Linked DNA regions of Homo sapiens: regions 2 and 3 are each linked to region 1. The links are contacts of gene promoters, found by promoter capture Hi-C in human tissues and cell types (Jung and others, 2019). All regions are on one chromosome and are shown on one strand. Each heading gives the region's core, a stretch centred on a gene start or on the middle of the fragment in contact. The rest is flanking DNA. Distances are from core to core; before and after follow the strand shown. Region 1 holds the start of TACO1 (translational activator of cytochrome c oxidase I). Region 2 overlaps TANC2 (tetratricopeptide repeat, ankyrin repeat and coiled-coil containing 2). Region 3 has its middle 9.7 kb from the start of MARCHF10-AS1.

Region 1 (4,358 bases), core at 160-2,659:
CACCTGGCTAATTTTTGTATTTTTAGTAGAGACGGGGTTTCACCATGTTGACCAGGCTGGTCTTGAACTCCTGACCTCAAGTGATCTGCCAGCCTCGGCCTCCCAAAGTGCTAGGATTACAGGCGTGAGCCACCGCACCCAGCCCCATGGAGGTTCTTATATAATAAAAAATAAAAAATCTATGCTTTTGTGCTTTGCATCCATTATCCCATTTAGTCCTCACAAGGCCATTCTATGGTAAGGAAACTGAAACAGGAAAGTAAAGGAACTTGCCCAAGGATACACTAGAAAATGGAACAACCAGGGTTTGAAGCCACCCAGTCTAACTGCAGAGGGCACAAACTTGGACTTCACACTGTCCTGCTTCTCTCTCTCTCTCTCTCTCTTTTTTTTTTTTTTTTTTGAGTTGGATTCTCGCTCTGTCGCACAGGCTGGAGTGCAGTGGCGCGATCTCGGCTCACTGCAACCTCCTCTTCCCGGGTTCAAGCGATTCTCCTGCCTCATCCTTCTGAGTAGCTGGCATTACAGGCGCGCGCCACCACGGCCGGCTAATTTTTTTGTATTTTTAGTAGAGACGGGGTTTCACCATGTTGGTCAGACTGGTCTGGCACTCCTGACCTAGCGATCCGTCTGCCTCAGCCTCCCAAAGTGCTGGGATTACAGGCGTGAGCCACCGCGCCCGGCTGTCCTGCTTCTCTACCTGATATGTCATGCCCTTTGGACTTAATCTCACCAGCATGGGAGTCACTACAAAGCTTTTCAGCAGCTGCCGCTTTGTTTCTCTCCATCTTCTAACGGATTCGGTTTTCTCTTTCGAGACAGCAGAGAGAAAATGAAGAGGGGAGTTTAGCTCCAAAGGGCTTGTCTGATCATTCTCCCTCTCCCAAAGGCCTGTGACTCATCTGAGTCTGTCCCAAACCATCTCTTGCATCTAGGGGCTTAAGTGCACTGTGGCTATTTACATAAAACTTTATTACTTTAAAGCTCTAAGGGCTCATTTTGTGTTTCTAACTTTCCTATGTTGATAAAGCAAATATTAGATCCTTATTTATAAATAGGGAAGACGTTCAGAGAGATTAAACATTTGGGCAATTCACTTCTCTGGCAGCAGTTTCTTTCCCAGTACAATGAGGCAACAACAAAATATCATTCTGGACTTGCTCAGATTTAGGCAGCAATTTGGAAGCAAAGTCAGTTTCATAACTCAGATGTGTCTCCACTAAAACATTATGAGAAACAAAGTCCGGCGCTCTCTAGGCAACCGTGAGGGCTTGAGCACTAACTAGATCTGCTCAAGGGCAAGAGAGGAGCGAGTACCGTGCAGCCACGGAACGGACTTTGCGGGCAGTGGGGACGTGTTTTTGGAGCGAACCCGGTAAAGGAAGTGTGCTACGCCATCAAGGGCCCCCAGTCCCGGGTGCCGCGGGGACAGTGTAGGGTCATTAGCTGTTGAGCCGCCCCGGGCGGGCCCAAGCCTTTGGATCTCAGGTGACCGGCACAGGCGGCCGCGGGGTCCGGAACTGCTTGTTCCGGCAGTGGAAGAGACGCGCCGGCGTTGGCCGCTGCTGCTAGCAGCTTGAACCCCAGGGTCGGGACCGATGTCGGCTTGGGCTGCTGCCAGCCTAAGCAGGGCCGCTGCCCGATGCTTGCTGGCACGAGGCCCCGGGGTCAGGGCGGCTCCTCCGCGCGACCCCCGGCCCTCCCACCCCGAGCCCCGGGGCTGCGGTGCCGCTCCGGGCAGGACGCTGCACTTTACCGCGGCTGTCCCCGCCGGGCACAACAAGTGGTCCAAAGTCAGGCACATCAAGGGTCCGAAGGACGTCGAAAGGAGTCGCATCTTCTCCAAACTCTGTTTGAACATCCGCCTGGCAGTGAAAGGTGAGACCCTGACGGTCACCCAGCACTGGCTGCCGCTGCCCTCTCAGTGCCCGCAGCCTCGCTTGCCTCTCGGAATTGGGCCCACCTAGATCTCCGGCCCTTCACTTTGTTTTCCTTCCCCAGTACCCACCATTGCCCACCTCATAAATCCTCAAAACACCTACCCTACGTTGGAGGTTCTCACTCACTTTTCCAGACGCTGAGCATCTGGCCAGTTTGTCAGAGAGGGAGCTGCTCTTAAGAAGATAAGCCGGTAAGGTAGAAGTGACTTCATCCTAATCTAGCTGGGTACTTAATAGAAACAAGCCCTAAGAGTCAGGGCAGATGTGTGTCTCTCCTGAAGAGACAAATCAACCCCTCTGAAGTCGCCTCAAGTACCTTATTGGTTGTGGCAGGGGCACTGAGTAAAGCTATTACTTAAGTGCTTAGGCCTTAGCTTAGGCCTTAGTTTGCTTCATTAATGTTTCCCCAAGACACATTTCCTTGGAAGGTAGATTTGCAGCCATGTCTTTTCTCCCTTAGGTCGCCACACTGAAAAGGCTTTTTTTCTGTTTAGGGCCAGACATCTGTAGGAGCAAAGGAAAAGTCCTGTAGAAAGCATGGACTTTGGACTGGGCGCAGTGGCACAGCCTGTAATCCCAGGCCAGAGGCAGGCAGATCACTTGAGGTCAGGAGTTCAGGACTAGCCTGGCCAACATGGGGAAACCCTGTGTCTACTAAAAATAACAAAAAAAAAAAAAAAAAAAAACAGCTGGGCATGGTGGTGCATGCCTGTAATGCTGGCTACTCGGGAGGCTGAAGCAGGAGAATTGCTTGAACCCAGGAGTTGAAGGCTGCAGTAAGCGAGATTGCTCTACTGTACTCCATCCAGCCTGGGTGACAGAGCAAGACTCCATCTCAAAAAAAAAAAAAAAAAAAGAGAGAGAAACTGTGGACTTTGGAGTCAGGAAGACTGGTTTCTGTCACTGACTAACCTTGAACAAGTAGCTTAACTTGAGTTTCTCTGAAACAAGGATAATACCCACCTTGAGGTAGTTTATGGTTTATGGCACATCATAGGCATTCAGTTAATGTTAATTTACCCCCTCAGCTCATGCCTGGTATTTGTTTGCTTCCTTTTCTTCAAAATTCTTGATATTAAGTTCAAGCAACTTTTATTTATTTATTTATTTATTTATTTTGAGACAGAGTCTCACTCTGTCACCCAGGGTAGAGTGCAGTGGCGTGATCTTGGCCCATTGCAACCTCCACCTCCCAGGCTCAAGTGATTCTCCTGCTTTAGCCTCCGGAGTAGCTGGGACTACAAGTGTGCACCACCATGCCTGGCTAAATTTTTTTGTATTTTTAATAGAGACAGGGTTTCACCATGTTGGCCAGGCTGGTCTCGAACTCCTGACCTCAAATGATCTACCCACCTCCACCTCCCAAAGTGCTGGGATTGCAGGTATCAGCCACTGCATCCCAATGAAGTTCAACCAACTTGTGTTTATTTTGTGCCAGGCATGCCATTGGTACTAGAAAGATGATGAGATACAGCCCCTACCCTCAGATCACAATGTCATGTGAACATTTCAATAATTATGCACAAAGTGCTGGGCACGGTGGCTCACACCTGTAATCTCAACACTTTGGGAGGCTGAGGCCGGCGGATCACGAGGTCAGATCGAGACCATCCTGGCTAACACGGTGAAACCCCGTCTCTACTAAAAATACAAAAAAATTAGCCAGGCGTGGTGGTGGCGGGCGCCTATAGTCCCAGCTACTCAGGAGGCTGAGGCAGGAGAATGGCGTGAACCCAGAAGGCGGCGCTTGCAGTGAGCCGAGATTACACCACTGCACTCCAGCCTGGGCAACAGAGGAAAACTCTGTCTCAAAAAATAATAATAAAAATAAAATAAAATAAAAATAATTATTATGCACAAAGTAGTAGAGTAAGAGCAGTAATGAGTCCAGGAAGTGTTGTTACCATCTATAACCCTTCTTCATCTGACACAAAGTAGAGATCGCTGAAACCTAGCAGAATGAAAACCATCCCTAAAGACAATGAATTAGAAAGTTCTGGCCAGGCACGGTGCCTCATGCCTGTAACCCCAGCACTTTGGAAGGCCAAGGTGAGTGGATCACTTGAGGTCAGGAGTTCGAGACCAACCTGGCCAACGTGGTGAAACCTCATCTCTACTAAAAATACAAAAATTAGCTGGGCATGGTGGCAGACACCTGTAATCCCAGCTACTTAGGAGGCTGAGGCAGGAGAATCCCTTGAACCCGGGAGTGGGAGGTTGCATTGAGCCAAGATGAGCCAAGATCATGCCACTGCACTCCAGCATGGATGACAGAGTGAGACTCTGTCTCAAAAAAAAGGTCTTTTCTGGCCAGACATGGTGGCCCACACCTGTAATCCCGGCACTTTGGGAGGCCGAGTCAGGCAGATCACTTGAGCTCAGGAGTTTGAGACCAGCCTGGGCGACATGGTGAAAACC
Region 2 (4,081 bases), core at 1,393-3,892, 600 kb before region 1:
TTGTTGAGTCTCCAGCCTTAGTGGACCATTAAGAAGTCATTACTTCTCCTGAATGGTTTAGAATGAGTGTCACAAACATAAAAGCTTAGGGACCATGTAGATAACATAATGTTCAAATCAGCTAAGTGTAAGAAAATTAGAAATGATTGGGGGCCTGTCAATGGCTTGTTATTTTCCTGTCCAGATATTTCACTTGCCAGGGATGTATCTGATGATTCCTCCTGAGAGAGTGAACATCTTAAAATTTGGATGCAAAATTTGGAAAAGCAGGGTAAAATTTAGATTTACATTAGTGTCAATTAGACCAAACTGCCTTCTCCCACTTAGCTTCAATTTGTGGAATTTCTATATTAATATTTTATTATGATCAGTTTTCTATTGGTATGTTAACTTGAGGAAAATCATTTAATCAAAATGTAACTATGAGATGAGTAGCTTTATGTTTTACTTTTCTATATATTGAAGTAATTAAAAAAGTTTTAGAACTAGCAAAAAAAAAAAAAAAAAACCCTCTATATCTTCAAGAAGTAGCCATCACTATAATTTATGCCACCCACCAAAATATTTTACCTAAATCAACTTAAGTATGTTCTCCTGGTCTTTTTTTGACTCTTAGTAAATTTTAAGTAATAAGTTGCTGTTTTTATGATAATGATAATCTGCACTCATTTTTTTCCTTTCAAAACTTTGAACAACTATGTGTAAATAATCAGAGTTTGAGTTAGAAGTTCTAAGTAAGCCTAGAATATTCTTGGTTTTCCCTCAGATAAAATTTTGAACTATTCCTACAATTTTCATGCCTTTTCTTGATTCCCTGGTACACATTCATTCTAGGTAGTCCTCATTGTTCTGGTTGATTTAAAATCATTTCTCGCTCAATGAAACTTACTTTTATTATGCCCCTTCTTTACTAAGTCAGTAAATCTGATGAATTGTGTCTTTGCTCAGTTTATTTACTCATTCAAGAAATGTTGAGAGCCTACCATGAACTAGGTGTTGTGGTTAAAAAGATTAATAAGACCAGGTTTCCTTTTCGTTTTTCTTTTCTTTTCTTTTTTTTTTTTCTTTTTCTTTCTTTCTTTTTTTTTTTCCAAGATGGAGTCTCCCTCTGTTGCCCAGGCTGGAGTCCTCTGGCAGCTCGCTGCACCCTTTGCCATCCGGGTTCAAGCGATTCTCCTGCTTCAGACTCCCAAGTAGCTGGGACTACAGGTGCATGCCAGCATGCCCGGCTAACTTTTTTGTATTTTTTAGTAGAGACAGGGTTTCACCACATTGGCCAGGCTGGTCTTGAACTGCTGACCTCAAGTGATCTGCCCGCCTCTACCTCCCAAAGTGTTGAGATTACAGGTATAAGCCACTGCGCCTGGTCAAGACCAGATTTCTTTATAAGGGATTTGATATGGACAATGGTATACAAACAAAAATATGTAATTGATAAATTCAGCAAATATTTAGCACTTCCTGTGTATCAAGTATTATTTTCCATTTACAGGGCTGTAGCAATGAATTAAACAGGCATCTTCTCTTCCCTCCTGGAGCTTATATTCTAGTAGGGAAACTGATAAGACAATCAGGTATATAAGATGTCTTTTGGAGGTAAGTATTTGGGGAAGAACACATAAGAAGTTATGGGTGACGGTTTTGGAGCATAAATCATACCACAGAGTTGCCCTCCCCTGGAATTAAGGAAGCTGGTCTTTTGTATCTCAATGATTAATAATTAGTCATTGACTGAGAACCTCTCTAGGGTAGAAGTAGTAAGGCATGAAGCTTTCTGGGCAAGATGGTGCCAGTTAGCCAAAGGCAGTTCTCTGGAGAAGTGGGGGAGCATCTCCAAGCCATTAACAGCTCAGTTATTTACATTTTAAATAGTTTTAGTTATCGCATGTATATCCACTACTTACAGTTTACTGTTAACATTTTATTTTGTTATAATTCATCACATATCTGCCTCTCTATGCCTCCATCAGTCCATCAATCCACCTTATTTTTTGATGCATTTCAAAGTAATAATCTGCAGACATCTATATGCTTTCTCCTATTTAAGCATGAATATCATTAAGTGGATTTTAGCATTTGTTTACATTTTTCATTTGAAAAAAGTAATCATCTTCAAAACATATAGAATATTACCATCATCCTAGAAAGGTTCCTCGTGCCATTTCTAAGTTGATCCCCATATCTACCCCCAAGAGACAACCATTATTCTGATTTTTTTGGCATAGATTATTCTTGAAGTTGGTATAAATGTAATAATGCAATGCATATGCTTCTATGTAAAGGTTCTTTCACTTGGCATATTATATGTTGTGATTTATCTGTGTTGACTGTATGAGTAGTTCATTCCTTTTTCTTGCTGAGTAATATTCCTCTTTGTGAATATCCCATAGTTTATTCGTCTGTTGATGGACACCTAGTCTAGGTATAGGGTATTATAAATCTGTTATGAAAATTGTTGTACTAGTCTTTTCATTATGCATATATGTTTTAATTTCTCTTGGGTAAATAGTAGAGGTGGAGTCATGCATTAGGTGTACAGTAAGTTTCATAATAAACAGCTATATTTTTCTCCAAAGCCATTGTACCATTTTATACTCCTAAAATAGTGTGTTGGAATTTAAATTACTCTTCATTGTGATCAATATTTGATATTGTCAAACTTTTTAAAGTTAGCTCTTCTGGTGGGAGTATAGTGGATAGCTAATTATAATTTGTATTTCTGCAATGACATATAATGTTGAGCCCTTATAATTTGGGTGTGGGTCATTTATATATCTACTTTTTGAAACTACCTGTTCAAATCTTTTACCCATTTGAAAATCGATTGTCTCTTTATTACTGAGTTGTAGGTGTTCTTTATATACAGTAGTCCCTCCGTATCCACATTCCAAGACACACCCCACAGTGGATGCCTGAAATGACAGTACCAAATCCTGTACACGCTATATGCAGTAACTGATCTGATAACCAGGGTGGCTGCTAATTGACCAGTGGTCAGGTGGCATATACAGCTTGGATAAACTAGACAAAGGGATGTTTTACCTCCCAGGCAGGATGGAGCAGGATGGTGTGAGATTTCATCAGGCTACTTAGAATGGTGTGTAATTTAAAACATGAATTATTTCTGCAGTTTTCCATGTAATATTTTTAGACTGCAGGTAACCGAAACCATGGAAAGCAAAACTGCAGATAAAGGGGGACTACTGTATCTTGGATGTAAGTCCTGTGTTATATATGTTTTGTGAATAATTTTTCCCAGTTTGTGGCTTGCCTGTTTTCTTTAATGTTATCTTAGCAGATGTTTTTAAATTTTTAATAACCTCCAAATATATGTTTTTTTAAGTGGCTGTTGCTTTCTATGTTCCTAAGAATCCTTTGTCTACCTGTAAATAGTGAGACAGTCTGTTTTTTAATTTGTTTGTTTTTTTTCAAACTGTACTCTGCTTTCTTGAAGATACTTCCCAGAAACAGTCATGGTATTTCAGGCAGGACATGGGCAGACAATCATTAACAGTGTACAACAACTTTCAGACTCCTTCTTTGATGGACCACCAAAAATCAGAAAGCCACTATAAAACCCATGAAGTCTTCATTTGATGCTCAGAACAGGGAAAGTTTAGAGGGAGGGTTGACATTTCACATTTAGCTGTTGTTTAACAACTTTTCATGAGCCAGCCCTGACTTTCAGGTAGCGAAATGAAAATGGCAAAATTTATCTGAAGATCCTCAACTGCTGCTCTTTTGAGGGGCGCCATCTCAGTGGCATCACTGGAAGGTTCAGATTGCCTGACACACTGGTAACCAATTACTGGGGCTCAGGTCCCAACAGGTGTTTGGGCCTAAGGAGTTAAGTCTGTGCTGAAGGTGGAAAGGGAGAAGAGGACGTAAGAATGAATTTGTTTTTTCATACCACGTGGCATTTGTGCCAAGGTGGCTATGTGTGTCAAAGTCAGGAAATCCTTCTTCCTGGGAGCCAAGAGGAAGTTTCTTAAAACTAGAAGGGAAAAGGTGTTTTCCTTACATCAATCCAGCTTTGGATACATTCTAGTAGTGATATATGCCTCTTCCCCAAAAAGCAACA
Region 3 (4,073 bases), core at 772-3,271, 900 kb before region 1:
GGCAGTGGTAGAATGTAGCATTATTTTCAGGATAGTGGGAAGTCAATGGGAATGGCTAATCAGGCTGACCTTTTAACAAGATCATTCTGGCTAGGAGTTGAGAAATAGACAATGGATGGGAAACGGGGGAGTGAAAGCAGGAAGGCTGGTGCGGAAGCTCTTGTAATAATTCAGGCACAACAAGACGGTGGTTTGTTGGGATCAGGACTGCAGTAGTGGTCAGATTCTGTGTGTGTGTGTGTGTGTGTGTGTGTGTGTGTGCGCGCGCGTGCGTGTGTGTGTGTTTTGCCCTGTTCATGATATTTAAAATAAGTTTCCACTTTTATGAATAGACAATGCAGTCACGCAGTCTGCATTGCGTGGGATACCTAAATGATATCCCAAGATAGATGTTGCGCAAGTCCTGCCCCTGCCCGTCGCCCTCCAGCCTATACCCTCCTGCCCTGTCAGTTTCCTGTCTTTCCAGTGTTTCTTTGTGAAAGCAAATGAACGCCAGATTGGACTGAAGGGATGGCGGATGCCCTTGCTGGGGATGGGATCTGCCTGGGGAAAGGCAGTGGGAGTCAGGAAGCACTCCAAGCTTCCCGCCTGGACTGCAGGGTGAATGGGGTGCTGTTTCCTGAGACAGGAGCCCTAGGGAGAGCCCATGAGCTGCTGGCCTGAGTCCAGGACTACGGTGGAGCCCAGGGGACCCCCTCCAGCAATCCTCTCTGTGCCGCCCCAGCAACAGCAGGACCCATGGAAGGCGCCTAATCACTCAGGGGAGGGAGTCCCAGTCCTGTGGGAGGTTCACCCTGGAGTGAGTTGCTATCTAGCCCTGCAGCCCAAACAGCTCCCTTTGTGAGTTAAGTGCCCTGCCACTGCCCACAGTGAGAGGTGAAGCCAGCTGGACTTCCTAGGTTGAGTGGGGACTTGGAGAACTTTTCTTACAAGAGGTTTGTAAAATCAGTGCTCTGTAAAAATGCACCAATTGGTGCTCTGTAGCTAGCTAGAGGTTTGTAAAATGCACCAATCAGTGCTCTGTAAAAATGCACTAATCAGCACTCTGTACCTGGCTAGAGGTTTGTAAAATGGACCAATCAGCACTCTGTAAAATGGACCAATCAGCAGGACATGGGCGGGGACAAATAAGGGAATAAAAGCTGTGTCCTCCCCACCCACCCCACCCCTAGCAGCAACCCGCTCAGGTCCTCTTCCATACTGTGGAAGCTTTGTTCTTTCACTCTTCACAATAAATCTTGCTGCTGCTCCTCACTCTTTGGGTCCGTGCCACTTTTAAGAGCTGTAACACTAGGCCAGGCATGGTGGCTCACGCCTGTAATCCCAGCACTTTGGGAGGCCGAGACAGGCAGATCATGAGGTCAGGAGATCAAGACTATCCTGGCTAACATGGTGAAACCCCATCTCTATTAAAAATACAAAAAATTAACTGGGCGTGGTGACAGGCGTCTGTAGTCCCAGCTACTCGGGAGGCTGAGGCAGGAGAATGGCGTGAACCCAGGAGGCGGAGCTTGCAGTGAGCCGAGATTGTGCCACTGCACTCCAGCCTGGGCGACAGAGCGAGACTCTGTCTCAAAAACAAAAAAAAAGAGCTGTAACACTCACCGTGAAGGTCCGAGGCTTCATTCTTGAGGTCAGTGAGACCACGAACCCACTGGAAGGAACCAACTCCAGACACAACACCACAAGAAACATTGGGGGAGAGGCCCCCCAAGACCCTAGTGACTCTAACCTCGGGAGAGAAGAAAGGTCAAGGAGTGAGGTCCGGATCACTAGCTTGAGGGGTGGGAGGGAGCAGCGGAGGGACGGAGGACCCCAGTGGCCAGAGCTGCCCTCGTCAGTGGCTGGTGCCTGCTCTCCTCACGTCTCTCTGCCTTGCTCAGGTGACGAGTCTCCCCAGGGCCCTGCACCCACCTGCAAGCATTTCAGACAGCGTCACGGGTGCCTGGAGGCTACCCCTAGACCTCGTTCTAAGCCTGCCCAGAGATGACTAAGGGAGGCTCCTGCATCTCTCTGAAGGGGCAGGAGGCAGGCTCTGGATGCCGGCCACTCACCCTCTGGCTCAGGATAGCCCTGGTGGCAGTCTCCTTCCTTTCTGCTCATTTCATTTCAATACATCAAGTACCTCCTCTACATACCAGGCTCTTTGCTGGGTGGCAGATGCCCCCAAGCCTATCCTGGCAGGCCTGGGCAATCAGCACTGTATGCCAGGCGCTAGGCCCAGCCTTCACTTGCAGGGTTAACCCGCCCCGCTCTGGCCACCTGGATCCGTGAATGAATGGGAGAATGCGGCTGCTCTCCAGAGAACAGCATTCTCTCAACCGCTTCTTGTCGCGCCAGAGATGGCCTCCTCGAAGGTGTGCTGGCAGAGCTGGCCTGGCCCAGTGGGCAGCCCTGTGAGGCCGCAGGGGTGAGGAGCCGCCAGCCACACCACATGGCTCTCCTGGAACGGAGCCACCTGAGCCCGGCCAAGCCGCCTCGAGCACCAGGGCTTGAGTCCATTGCAGGCACAAGGCAAAGAATTGCGACTTGAGGGAGGACCCGGAGGAAGGCAGGCTGGAGGGAGGGAGGGCGGGCAAAGGACAGCAGGGAAATGAAGGGGGCTGTGAAAGACCAGCACCAGATGAAAGTACCGAGATGTTCCGGACAGGCCTGATTTTCTTTATCTTCGGGGCTGGGACTGCCAAGAGGCCCCGGGGAAAGCCTGCAGGCTTCACTCCCACCAGAACCAGCACCATTTGAGGGACAGATTTCAATCCTTCCTTGGCCAGACAAGCAGGCGGGATGCCAGCGCTGGAGAAAGGGGAGGAGGAGGAGCGGTGGGCAGGCCTTTCCTGCTGGAGGTGGACACGCTGGGGGCGCTGAGGTTCAAGGCCACACAGTGAGGAGTGCAGAACCTTAACTGTCTCCTTGCATCGGCTGATGGCAGAGCTTTAGTTATAGCCATTTCAGGGAAATCCTGGTCAGTTAAGGTTTTCTAGTGCAGTTGGGATTTTCGCCTATATTTCCAGGTGCCTCTAAGGTCCTATGGAGCGTCCAGGTTTCACAGCTGGGGGAGGGACATCTGGTTCCCGGTCATTTATGTCCCCGCTGGCTTATGCAGGGGTGTCCTGCCCTTCTGCATCTCCCTCAGGGACTTGGGGAACCTTGGATGGTGTCTTTCCTCATACTGGGGCTGCAGGGGGCTCAGAACACTGCCTCTGACCCACTATTCCTCCATGACAATGATAATAACAAAATAGGTATTATTTACTATGTACACGCCCTGTTCTAACTGCTTAACACGTATTAACTCACTTAATCTTCCCAATACAACATAAGGTAGGTGCTACTGTCCCCCTCTTACAGATGAGAAAGCTAAGGCACAAAGGTGAAGAACTTGCCATGCCACCTCTCCTCCCTGCACTGGAAAACGTGTTGTGGGGTGGGCAACAGGGCTACAGAGAGCCCCTCGAGATCTTGTAGTCAGGCCTGGGGACTAAAGAACTTTGTCCCAACCTCTCATCTCTGGAGAGTTTTAGGGCTATTTTGAGACTTGAGGGCTAAGAATGACCTCTTTCCTTCTGAGCCTCCACGGCCTCCCTTCCCAAAGCAGTGGCGGAGGGACACCTGGGTCTCCTGGGCTGTGGGGTACAATGCATAGAAATAAAGTGGGGCTCGGTTGACGTATTAGACATTTATACCATTGGGGATGCTTTATTTTATATTTTAGCATTATTTATTTTTATTTTTTATTTTTCTGAGACGGAGTCTTGCTCTGTCACCCAGGCTGGAGTGCAGTGGCGCGATCTCAGCTCACTGCCTCCCGGGCTTCAGCGATTCTCCTGCGTCAGCCTCCTGAGTAGCTGAGACTACAGGCACCCTCCACCAGGCTTGGCTAATTATTTTTTTATTTTTAGTAGAGACCAGGTTTGACCATGTTGGCCAGGCTGGTCATGAACTCCTGACCTCAAGTGATCCGCCCACCTCGGCCTCCCAAAGTGCTAGGACTATAGGCGTGAGCCACCGCACCTGGCCTCATCACTGCCTTTTAATAAATGAGGCTGTCCTCTTGGAATCTCAAGCCATGAAAA

The links. The method cuts DNA at HindIII sites, captures the fragments that hold promoters and counts their contacts. A contact is called where the count stands out against the background at its distance.
Region 2: a contact is called between a fragment that was not itself captured here and the fragment with the promoter of TACO1 in region 1, in 2 of the 25 tissues and cell types used here (IMR-90 fibroblasts and dorsolateral prefrontal cortex).
Region 3: a fragment that was not itself captured here is called in contact with the fragment with the promoter of TACO1 in region 1 in 1 of the 25 tissues and cell types used here (spleen).

Annotation. Positions count from the first base shown.
Region 1 is chr17:63,599,486-63,603,843 of GRCh38, forward strand. It overlaps TACO1 (translational activator of cytochrome c oxidase I), which reads left to right and starts at 1,410. Exons shown (of 5, transcript NM_016360.4): 1 at 1,410-1,878. The coding sequence starts at 1,599. The HindIII fragment of the contact is 17,557 bases long and covers 1-4,358 here.
Region 2 is chr17:63,000,479-63,004,559 of GRCh38, forward strand. The region is part of intron 1 of TANC2 (tetratricopeptide repeat, ankyrin repeat and coiled-coil containing 2); the gene reads left to right. Among named protein-coding and RNA genes, the nearest start is that of TANC2, 36 kb to the left of the region's middle. The HindIII fragment of the contact is 8,308 bases long and covers 1-4,081 here.
Region 3 is chr17:62,694,503-62,698,575 of GRCh38, forward strand. No RefSeq gene overlaps it. Among named protein-coding and RNA genes, the nearest start is that of MARCHF10-AS1, 9.7 kb to the right of the region's middle. The HindIII fragment of the contact is 8,069 bases long and covers 1-4,073 here.